Regions from separate parts of the Homo sapiens genome. Here region 1 is linked to region 2. The links are contacts of gene promoters, found by promoter capture Hi-C in blood cells and fetal thymus (Javierre and others, 2016). All regions are on one chromosome and are shown on one strand. Each heading gives the region's core, a stretch centred on a gene start or on the middle of the fragment in contact. The rest is flanking DNA. Distances are from core to core; before and after follow the strand shown. Region 1 overlaps RPRD1B (regulation of nuclear pre-mRNA domain containing 1B). Region 2 holds the start of CTNNBL1 (catenin beta like 1).

What was found. Contacts are between HindIII fragments. The CHiCAGO score rates a contact against its expected background, and 5 or more counts as called.
Region 1: a contact is called between a fragment that was not itself captured here and the fragment with the promoter of CTNNBL1 in region 2, in 1 of 17 cell types (fetal thymus). The highest score is 5.4, in fetal thymus.

Annotation. Positions count from the first base shown.
Region 1 is chr20:38,039,306-38,044,931 of GRCh38, reverse strand. It overlaps RPRD1B (regulation of nuclear pre-mRNA domain containing 1B), which reads right to left. Exons shown (of 7, transcript NM_021215.4): 2 at 4,368-4,497. Among named protein-coding and RNA genes, the nearest start is that of RPRD1B, 8.4 kb to the right of the region's middle. The HindIII fragment of the contact is 743 bases long and covers 3,740-4,482 here.
Region 2 is chr20:37,692,691-37,698,026 of GRCh38, reverse strand. It overlaps CTNNBL1 (catenin beta like 1), which reads right to left and starts at 3,997. Exons shown (of 16, transcript NM_030877.5): 1 at 3,875-3,997. The coding sequence starts at 3,904. RefSeq lists a silencer at 527-676 and an enhancer at 3,660-3,719. The HindIII fragment of the contact is 18,373 bases long and covers 1-5,336 here.

The sequences.
Region 1 (5,626 bases), core at 2,862-5,361, 350 kb before region 2:
TCTGTCTTATCTCATGCACAGCAGGCCTATGGTAGGCCTACTAAGGGCAGGAATTCTAAGTATTCCCTACACTTCCAACAGTACCTCATGTAAAGCTGGTTCAGAAAGGAGTTAACACAGAAGGCCAGACTGCTACCCTTAGGGAAGTGGTCTGGGAACTTGGGATTTCCGAGTGTCCCTACCATTTCCTAACTGGTAAGGGTGGTTTACTGGGCCTAAATTGTTTGTGCAAGCAATACGGTTCTTAATGAACACCTGAGCCTGGCGCGGTGGCTGACGCCTGTAATCCCAGCACTTTGAGAGGCCAAGGCGGGCAGATCACAAGGTCAGGAGATCAAGACCATCCTGGCTAACATGGTGAAACTCCGTCTCTACTAAAAAATACAAAAAATTAGCCGGGCATCATGGCGGGCGCCTGTAGTCCCAGCTACTTGGGAGGCTGAGGCAGGAGAATGGCATGAACCCGAGAGGCGGAGCTTGCAGTGAGCCAAGACCAAGCCACTGCACTCCAGCCTGGGCGACAGAGTGAGACTCCGTCTCAAAAAAAAAAAAAAAAAAATGAACACCTGATTTATTTCTGGGAGCTTAGAATTTTGGCAGAGGGTGTCTACATGACCAATCCAATAAAAACTCTGGGCACAGAGTCTTTAATGAGCTTTCCTGGTAGGTTACACATCATACACATCACAACTCAGTGCTAGAGGAATTAAGCGTGTTTGTGGAATAACACTGAGAGAGGACTCGGAAGCTTATACCCAGAGCGCTCCAGTCTGCTGCGGGTACTGCATGCACATCACCCTCTGCTGCTGCTGCTGCTTTGGATCCTTTAGCTGTAATGAATCACTGCCATGACTATGACTACATGATGAGCCCTGTGAGTCATTCTAGGGAATCACCAAACCTGGGAGTGGTCTTGGGGCCCACAACAATAAGTAAATATCATGTGGGTAACTCTCAAATTTATGTCTCCAGAAATCAAGTCTCTACTGAGCTTCAGACTATTTTATCCACCTGCCTATTTGGCATCACTCCTTGGAATATTCACTAGCCACCTCACACTCGGCCTGGCCAAAACAAAACTCGTGATTTCCTCCACCAAATCTTTTCCCCAATCTTCACTTCAGTAAAGGGCACCATCAGTCATTCCTTACATCAAAAACCTAGAAATCGTCTTTGATTTCTCTTTTCACTTACTACCAGCTCCCACTCAACGCCTATAAATCCTATCAGTTTTACACTGGAGAGGTGGGGATCCTCCCACGAAGGAAGCACTCAATAAATGGAAGCTATTAGTATCTTCCCATTGCTTCTGAGTCCTAGGCAATGTCACCTCTAGCCTGCATCACAGCAATATCCTCCAAACTCATGTCCCCGCCCCTCCCTTGGCCTTTACAATCCATCCCTCTACACTAAGCCATTTTTAAAGAGGGATGTTTTAAAAATGTATGTTGGAATATATTGGAATATATCATTCCCCTGGTTAAAACTCTTCAATGACATCCCATGAGAAAAAAATCCTAACTTCCAAGACTTACAGGGTGTATGTGACTGCTGCATGTCCACCTCTCGGACCTCATCTGGATATCACTTTTCCCTTTGTGCACTATATTCTAACCACACCAGCCTTCATTCTGTTTCTCTTAGAAGGCCAAGATGATCTCTGCCTTAAGTTTTTCTTAATAGCTGCTCCCGCTTCGCATGATTACCGCAAATGTCATTTCCTTAGAGGCCTTCCTGAACCACACTACCTGTGAGATCCTACTCTAGAACATCACTCCATTTTACTATGTCCATATTGTCCTGCTCTGAAAGTATCTTGCTCATTTAATTGTCTTTGCCTGCCTTGTTCACTGCTGCTCCCCCCGTGTCTGGATCCATACTTGGCACATAGAAGGCACTCCAATACATGTTGAATGAAAAATGACATGGACAGCTGTCTCCTCACTGGGAAGAAAACAAGGCACTTGTATGAAAAGCAAGTTTGCAGTCTGGTTAATTAAACTGCTATTCAAATCAAATCTATCCTATGAACTTGGCAGCTTTCTCTGACTTGAGAGTTTTTTTTACTGTTTGTTTGTTTTGGGTGTGGAGGTGTCTTTTATCATAAAAATATCCCTCATCAATTTAGTCAACAGTAATGGGTCAACTATCTTTGTTCATCAACTGACCACAGAAAAAGCACACAGAAAGTATATGTTAATTAGGCTACTCCTACTGTGGACGAGCTGCATCACGGTTGAAGCAGAACTGTTGGACTTTCTGTCCCAATAATGGGGTATAAGAAAGGAGATTGGAAACATGGGTATCCTGAATGTAATACCCAAGCAGAATCTTAAAAGAACCAGAATGCAAACAGAAAGGAATTCGGGCTATTTTATTGAGAAGGACCAGGTTTATCTTCCTCACACTGCCACTGAATCTGCCAAGACACCTAAAACCTGGCTAGTTTTTAAGGTGTTCCCAAGAAAAAAGGAATTTTTAACCCTGGTGTTGCCCACCCCCTTTTCCACCCCTTTCTATTTACTTTTTGGTTTCAGGACAGCTAAAGATTACAGATCGTTTGTCTGTTTGTAATTTAGAGACAGGGTCATGCTCTGTTGCTAAACCTGGAGTGCAGTGGTATGATTATAGCTCACTACAGCTTTGAACTCCTGGGCTCAAGCAATCCCCCTGCCTCAGCCTCCCAAGTAGCTAGGACTACAGGTGCACACCACCATGCCTGGCTAATTTTTAAAAAATTTTTTGTAGACACAGGGTCTCACTATGCTGCCCAGGCTGGAATTTTTTAATAACACTGTTATGTTTACTATCCCTACAAGAAATCATTCCAGCCAACTCCCTAGACCAAATCTCTTCCATAATGAGTTAACATTAATTAACTCATTTAACAAATATTTACTGAACGCCTACTGTGTCAGGGCAGACCATAATGTTGCCCAGCTCCTGGGACACCACTTACATGGAGGCTATATAAATGGTATTCCTTCAAGCTACATAACTCAGCAGCTCTGTGCCAGACACTTTACTAGGTGCCTGGAATATAGGAAAAAACAAATGATCCAATGAATGAGCAAATGTGGAACAGGCATTGTACTACATACTTTTAAACATATTGTCTGTCTTTACCCTCACAACTCTTATGAGGGGGAGTGGTATCCTCCCCCTTTAGCCAGTTAGGAAATTTGGGCTCAAAAAGTTAAGTAACACATCCAAGGTCACTCACATAGTGTCTGAGGCAGAGCTACCATCAATTTCTAAGCAACTGTGAACTAAATCTCATCAAAGCAAGAAAATCTGTCTATTTCAGATAGCTCCTCTAGTAGTCTGTTCTAAGCTTACTCTGTTATGAAGATTCAGTATTTTTTTCAAGTTAATAACACATTTTGCTACTTGCGCCCATGTTGATCAAAAGGTGAGCCAGTTATGTAACTTATCCACAAAAACCATCTTTTTCATCTCTAGAAAGCTAGGTGTCATTTCTTTCTCTTGGATTTCTAATTTTATTCCTTCAAACTTTTCAAATCCTGCAATGAAAGCAGGACTTCATTTCTCATTTAAGGCCTTTCACTATATTTTAGACCTAGTAACAATTTATGTTTAACCTACTAGTCTCCCATTCATGTTTCCCAATTCCTTTTGCAAATATCTGTTTATATATTTACTTATAAACATAATATTCTAATGAACGATAGTTTTTCTTTGCTTTTCCTGGGCACCTAATTTAAGCCCACAGAAAGCTTTTGTTTTTACATGAAGTAAAGTAATTTATAAAACTTTTAATCCAATGTATGCTTTCTATGGTATTAGTTGTATGAGTGCCACTCCTCTCTGCCACAAAACACAACAGCACCAGGCTTAATACAATATAGCCAGAGCAAACACCTACTTTCTACACTAATAATTACTATTATTGCAGTTACAGTAATGCCTACTATTTTTAGTAAACTAGACATCTAGAAATCCAGAAGGAAATAAAAAGGAAGGCATTTGGCAATTAATTTCTTGCTATTAAGTTATGTTACTAAAAGGTTCCCTTACTAGTTAGCTTTGTTTTTTGATCATAAGCTGATGAGACAACTCAACCAAACCAAGGAAAATACCATAACCAAGAAATAAATTCAAAAAATGAAAATGAATATATCTAGAAGAAAGATAATGCTAGGCTGAATCTCTCAAATGTATCAGAATGTTTACATGTCTCGATAGTTCTTGAGGGCTCAACAAAACATAAAACCACAATTCGGCCTCCACAACTCTCTGTAAAGTAGGAAGTTGTCAATTTACAAAGGCTATCACAGAAAAGGAAAGAACAAAAAGGTGGGAAAGGCAATGAATTTAAAAACAAATCCAAAAAACAGACAACATACCTGGCAACATGAGAAAAAGCATCCACAAGGACAGATTCAAATTCTCTAGTGAATTCAGGTCCTTTCCTTTTACTGTTTTGGATGACATCATTCGCTAAATACAGAAAAGTAAGCTTTCTATTTGATTTGGCTGAAAAAAAGAAAAGAAAAGAATTTAACTTACACCAAAGAAATTCTCAATTCACAATTCTTTTGCCCTGGGCTGCTCCTAAAAAAACATTAAGACAAGTATTATCTACCTGGGGGGTCAAGTAGATATGTTTAAAAAGACCACCTAAGGAATAGGTTTGGGAATACCATTTCGGAAAAAAAAAAAAGAAAAAGAAAAAGAATGGGCCATCTTCATTGCTGTGTTGTTTAAACCAGGGTAATTAATTGATAGTAAAAATTAAGATAATCCAAAGAGAATTCCTAAAGGATAAGCAGTCAGTGTTAATGTTGAAACTAGGGCTTTTATTTATTCTACTGCAAAAATGAGCAACTTCTAACTCACTTTTAATTATCAAATATTTCAGAATGAAAGACTGAGTTGGCCGGACGCAGTGGCTCATGCCTGTAATCTCAGCACTCTGGGAGGACGAGGTGGGTGGATCATTTGAGGTCAGGAGTTTGAGACCAGCCTGGCCAACATGGTGAAACCCTACCTCTACTAAAGATACAAAAATTAGCCGGGTGTGATGGTGGGCACCTGTAGTCCCAGCTACTCAGGAGGCTGAGGCAGGAGAATCGCTTGAACCCAGGAGGTGGAGGTTGCAGTGAGCCGAGATTGCACTACTGTACTCCAGCTTGGGCAATAGAGCAAGACTCTGTCTCAAAAAAAAAAAAAAAAGACTGAGTTAGGTTTCAATTTTAAAATGGTTTCGCCGAGCGTGGTGGCTCATGCCTGTCATCCCAGCACTTTTGGAGGCCGAGATGGACGGATCACCTGAGGTCGGGAGTTTGAGACCAGCCTGACCAACGTGGAGAAACCCCGTCTCTACTAAAAATACAAAATTTGCCTGGCGTGGTGGCACATGCCTGTAATCCCAGTTACTCAGGAGGCTGAGGTGGGAGAATCGCTTGAATCCGGGAGGTAGAGGTTGTGGTGAGCCTAGATCATGCTGTTGCACTCCAGCCTGGGCAACAAGAGCAAAACTCCGTCTCAAAAAAAAAAAAAAGGTTTCTTGTAATTTTGCTCCTAAACTGAGAATTTCTCTGATACTCCAATAACCATAATCAATAATATAGAAGAATCTCTAGGTGCACCAATAGATATTAGC
Region 2 (5,336 bases), core at 2,748-5,247:
ACCCCAATCTACCTGTAGGCGCTAGGCATATTTGCTCTTGGTGAGGGGGAAAGGGGTCAGATTGACAAAATGAAATACTTTTGGAATAACACAATAAACAAATGTTTATGATCACGAAGCAAAGCTACCTAGATTGGAATCCTTGAGGTACATTTCACTTGTGTGAATCTGGACACGTTTTTTATTCTCTATACCTATTCCCTCATCTTTAAAATGAAGGTTCCTATATTAACATATTAAGTACTGCCATTAAGATTAAATGTGGTAAGATGTGTAAACATTAAAAAATAATAATAAGGAGACCAGGATTCTAGTTTCAACTCTGGCCACCATCTTGGCCCACAACCTCAGGTGAGTCCCTTTATCAGACTAAGGTTCACTTTCATCCATGAACAAGTGGGTTGAATGAAGGTATCTACCGTATCTCTCAAAGTCAAGGTCTTTATCGTGGCCCACAAGGAAGGCCTACATAGTCTTGTCACATGCCTACATCTTCAGCTTTGTCACTTACCATTCCCCTGCTCACTTCCCGTTTCAGCTACATAGATCCTCTTTCTGGTCCCCTATGAGGCTGCACCAGCTTCTACCAATAGCCTATGTCCATACTTGCTGTTCTTGCTGCCTCCATCATTCTGCTCCCTTCACATGACTGGGTCCCTCTCAACCTTCAGTCCTTTAATGCCCATTCCTCTGTGTCCTTCCTCGACCACATTACATAAAGTAAAAGGTCCTGTCCCCAACTCCCAGGGGTTATTTTCGACAGGAGTGTTGTCCAATAAAAATACAACAAAAGCCACAAACAAAACACCTAACTTTACATTTTCTTTCTTTTTTTTTTTCTTTGAGAGAGAGTTTCGCTCTTGTTGCCCAGGCTGGAGTGCAATGGGATGATCTCAGCTCACTGCAACCTCTACCTCCCAGGTTCAAGCAATTCTCCTGCCTCAGCCTCCCAAGTAGCTGGGATTACAGGCATGCACCACCACGCCCGGCTAATTTTTTATATTTTTAGTAGAGACATGGTTTCTTCATGTTGGTCAGGCTGGTCTCAAACTCCCAACCTCAGGTGACCCACCCGCCTCAGCCTTCCAAAGTGCTGGGATTACAGGCATGAGCTACCACACCCGGCCCACTTTACATTTTCTAGTAGCCACATTTTAAAAGTTTTTTAAAAAGCAACATTAATTTTAATAATATATTTTCTTTAATCCAATATATCGTAAGTGTTATCATTTATTCAACATGTAATCAGCATAAAAGTTAAGGTACTGTACATTATTTTCACGTGGCCAGGGGCAGTGGCTCACGCCTGTAATCACAGCACTTTGGGAGGCCAAGGCTGGCAGATCACCTGAGGTTGGGAGTCAAGACCAGCCTGACCAACATGGAGAAACCCCATCTCTACTAAAAATACAAAAATTAGCCAGGCGTGGTGGCGCATGCCCGTAATCCCAGCTACTCAGGAGGCTGAGGCAGGAGAATCGCTTGAACCCAAGAGGCAGAGGTTGCAGTCAGCTGAGATCTCACCATTGCACTCCAGCCTGGGCAACAAGAGTGAAACTCCATCTCAAAAAAAAAAAAAAAAAAAAAAAAAGATATTGTACATTATTTTCATACTAAATCTTTGAAATCCAGTGTGTATTTTGCACATGTAGCAGATCTAAATTCGAAACTAGTCACATTTTAAGTATTCAATAATCACATGTGCCTAGTGGCTACTATACAAAGCAGTGCAATTTTATAGCATACTCTGCTATATTCCCTTCCCAGCACTTACCACAAACTGAATGCATTGTTTACTTATTATCTTGTAACTTCCCACCAGATGCTCCACAAAAGCAAGAATCTTGTCTTTTATTCAGTGTTGTATACCCAGTGGATAGACTGCCTTGCACACAGTAGGTGTTCAATATATATTTGTTGAGCAAATGAATGAAACTCTTCTAGCTTTAATGGGCTAGCCATTCTAGAAATTCCAAGCCGGCATACAATCACTGATTTAATAACTTGCCTATTTCCCTTCATCTTTCACTATCAATTAAACTGTCTTTAAAAGAAAAATCTCTTGGCTATATAGCTCCCCATTGCTGAACTGTTCTTTCCCATGATGTCTTAAGCGTCCAGGGTCAATTTCTTGTACTTTGGCTGAGGGAGTGGTATGAAAATAACTGCTAATATTTACTGAATGTTTACTCTTTGGCAAGCATTGTCTAAGGACTTTCCATTTCTCAACAGCTTCACAACAGCCCTGTGAGGCAGCTACCGTCACTGTCCCCCATTTACAGATGAAGAAACCAAGGCAGAGAGAAATTAAGTATTTTGTTCAAGGTTACAGCAGCCAGTTAGTAGCAAAACAGAGACTGCCAGCAACCTAGGGGTCCAGACTCATGGCTCTTAATCACCTATTCTTGACTGCAGGGCTGTCTAACAAAAATATAAGCTGAACTATATATGTTGTTTTAAATTTTCTAGTAAACACATTAAAATGTCAAGAGGGGCAGTTAAAATTGGTTTTAAACATATTTTATTGGCTGAGTGTGGTGTGTGGTGGCTCATACCTGTAATCCCAGCACTTTGGGAGGCCAAGTGGGAAGACTGCTTGAGGCTAGGAGTTTGAGACCATCTTGGGCAACATAGCAAGACCCTGTCTCTACAAAAAATTTAAAAATCAGCCAAGCATAGTGATGCCTGCCTGCAGTCCTAGCTACTTGGGAGGATACCTTAGACCTAGGAGTTTAAGGCTACTGTGAGCAATGATTGTGCCACTGCACTCCAGCATGGGCGACAGAGCAAGATCCTGTCTCTAAATAACAATAAAATAAAATTTTAAAAATTAATTAAGTATATTTTATTTCACCCATTATCCAAAATATGATCATTTAATCAATATGACCAATAACCAATGTAATTGATATAATCAGTACGATCATGTAATCAATATAAAAATTTCACTTTTTCCATACTAGTCTCCAACCCAAATGTGTCTTTATACTTACAGTATTTCTCAATTCAGACTAGTCACATTTCAAGCAATCAACAGCCTATGTGGCTAGTGGCTACGACATTCGGCAGTGCAGCTCTACTGCTCCTCGCAATGACCCTCCTATGGAATCAAAGTGGGGGAAAAACTTTGGGGTGGAAGTCAGTACGCCTGAGCTCAAATTCCAGCTCCTTGTTTCTGAGTGACTTTGGACAAGCCCTTTCTGCTCTCTAGGTCCCATACAGTTTCCCCACAAGTTTCCTAGGCAAGGGGGACCCTGAGCAAGATTCCTAGAAACTCATTCCATGCTAGAATTCCCAACATCTCCTGCAAATCGCAGTAAACACAAGCACAGCTTTCCACACTTTAAAACCAGCTTTCATACATATCAGTTGGTACAGTCCTCAAACAACCCTACTAAGGCAGTTATTAGTGTCTCCACTATATAGATACAAAAACTTGGTTCAAAGAGGGGGGGAATGACTTGTCCAAAAGCCACATAGCCAGTCAGTGGAGAAGCTGGAGATCAAATCCAAGTGAGACCAGTGCACTCCCACCGCCGCCACCACCATCACCTCAATGACTGGGGGGACATGAGAGCTGAGAGGACATGGTTGTGAAAAAAAGGATAGTCTGGGGTTTCAGAGGAGTTTCAGGGAACCAGGCCCCAGGGTGAGGAAGAGGAGGTGAAGGGCTCAGGTCTTGAGAAGGGATGAATCGAAAGGGCCCAGGAGGGCTTCGGAGAGCAAAGTAAAACGAGGGGCTGAGACCCCGGGTGGCATGAGAAGTTAGAGGGCCCGGGAGTGAGGCGAGAGGAGGTGAGATGAAAGGGCTCTGGCTCCTGCGACCCCTGCCCAGGTGAGAACGCGGTCGCTCGGCCCTCCCTGCCCCTCATACCTGGTAGCTCAGAAGTTCGCCCACGTCCATGGTACCCGGCCCAGCAAATACTCCACTTCCCTGCACTCACGCCCAGACCGCGGGCCCGTCAGCCGCGGCTCCAGCCACACTGCCGTAAAGTGCGGCGAGCGGAGCCGCAGAGCCAATAGGGCAAAAGTGCGAGCGACAAGCGAGCCGGCCACACCGCGGTAAAAGGACGCGCCGCCGTAAAGCGCGCTGCATTTGGAACAGGGTTGCTTCCGCCTGGAGCCTGAGGGGGCGGGGAAAGGGGGCGGAGACTTAGAGGAGGGGCGGGAGGGGAGAGCAGGGACCAGAAGAAACCAAACTTGATTGCGCGTCCCTAGTGTCCAGGGCGGAGTGCCGGGTGTTTCGTGTGCGCTCTCACGAGCTTCCAGTGATTTATCCTCATTTCACAGAAAAGGAAACTGACGCTCCCAACTGCACCATCCAATACTTTACTCACTAGCCACATATGGCTACCGAGCGCTTGAGATATGGCTACTCCGAAGTGAGATGTGCCATAAGTGTAAATAAAATACACACCAGATTTCTAAGACTTACATTGATTACAGGTTGAAATGATATTTTGGATATACTGGGTCAAATTCATATATTATAAAATGAATTTTACCTGTTTCTCTTTACTTCTTAAATGTGGTTAGTAGAAAGTTTTAAATTACACATGTGGCTCTCATTTGTGGTTCCCATTAATTTCTATCAGATAGTGCTGGCTCAAAAAGTGACTTGTTCCAAGGCTGTACAACTATTACTGGCTGAGAAACTATTGGTGATCACATGTCCCTCTCTAGGCTTGTGTCTGCTCATCTATGCGAAGTCTAACGGTCACTAGATGATCCCCTTGCTACCCAGGTGATATAAAAAGGTTTCTGGAGGAGAAAGTTGCCCATAATTGGAAGAGAATCATTCAGAGTGCATCTGATCTTAAACAAGATCAGAATGCACCTGGGACTTAAGGCTCCATCTTCAAAGGAAATTAAACCTCCTTCCATAAGCCCCTGTCCTTTATATTTATAATTATATTTATGTATTATATTATATTTATATGCCCTTCATATTTATAATTTTGGTCCCCATCCCATCTGCACTGGCTCCAATTATACAGAAATTATTCTTATTCCTCAGAATGACAAATCCTCTCCCCTTCTGCCTGGCCATCAGCACCATACCTCATCCAATTCTCTCATCTTTCGGGTCTCAAATGTCACTTTCTTACAAGGGCTTCTTCAACTCACCCTGGTCCAGGTAATCAACCTCTCTCCTCATTATTCTTTTTCCAAGTACCTGCTCCACTACGTATATATCTCATTCTGTAATTTTGTGCTTAATGGTTGACTATTTGTTTCTTGACAGCCTCATTTACTGGATTGCAAGCTCTATGCAAGCAGGACATGTGTGTGTCATGTTCACCACTGTATCCCCCAAGCCTAGTACAGTGCCTGGT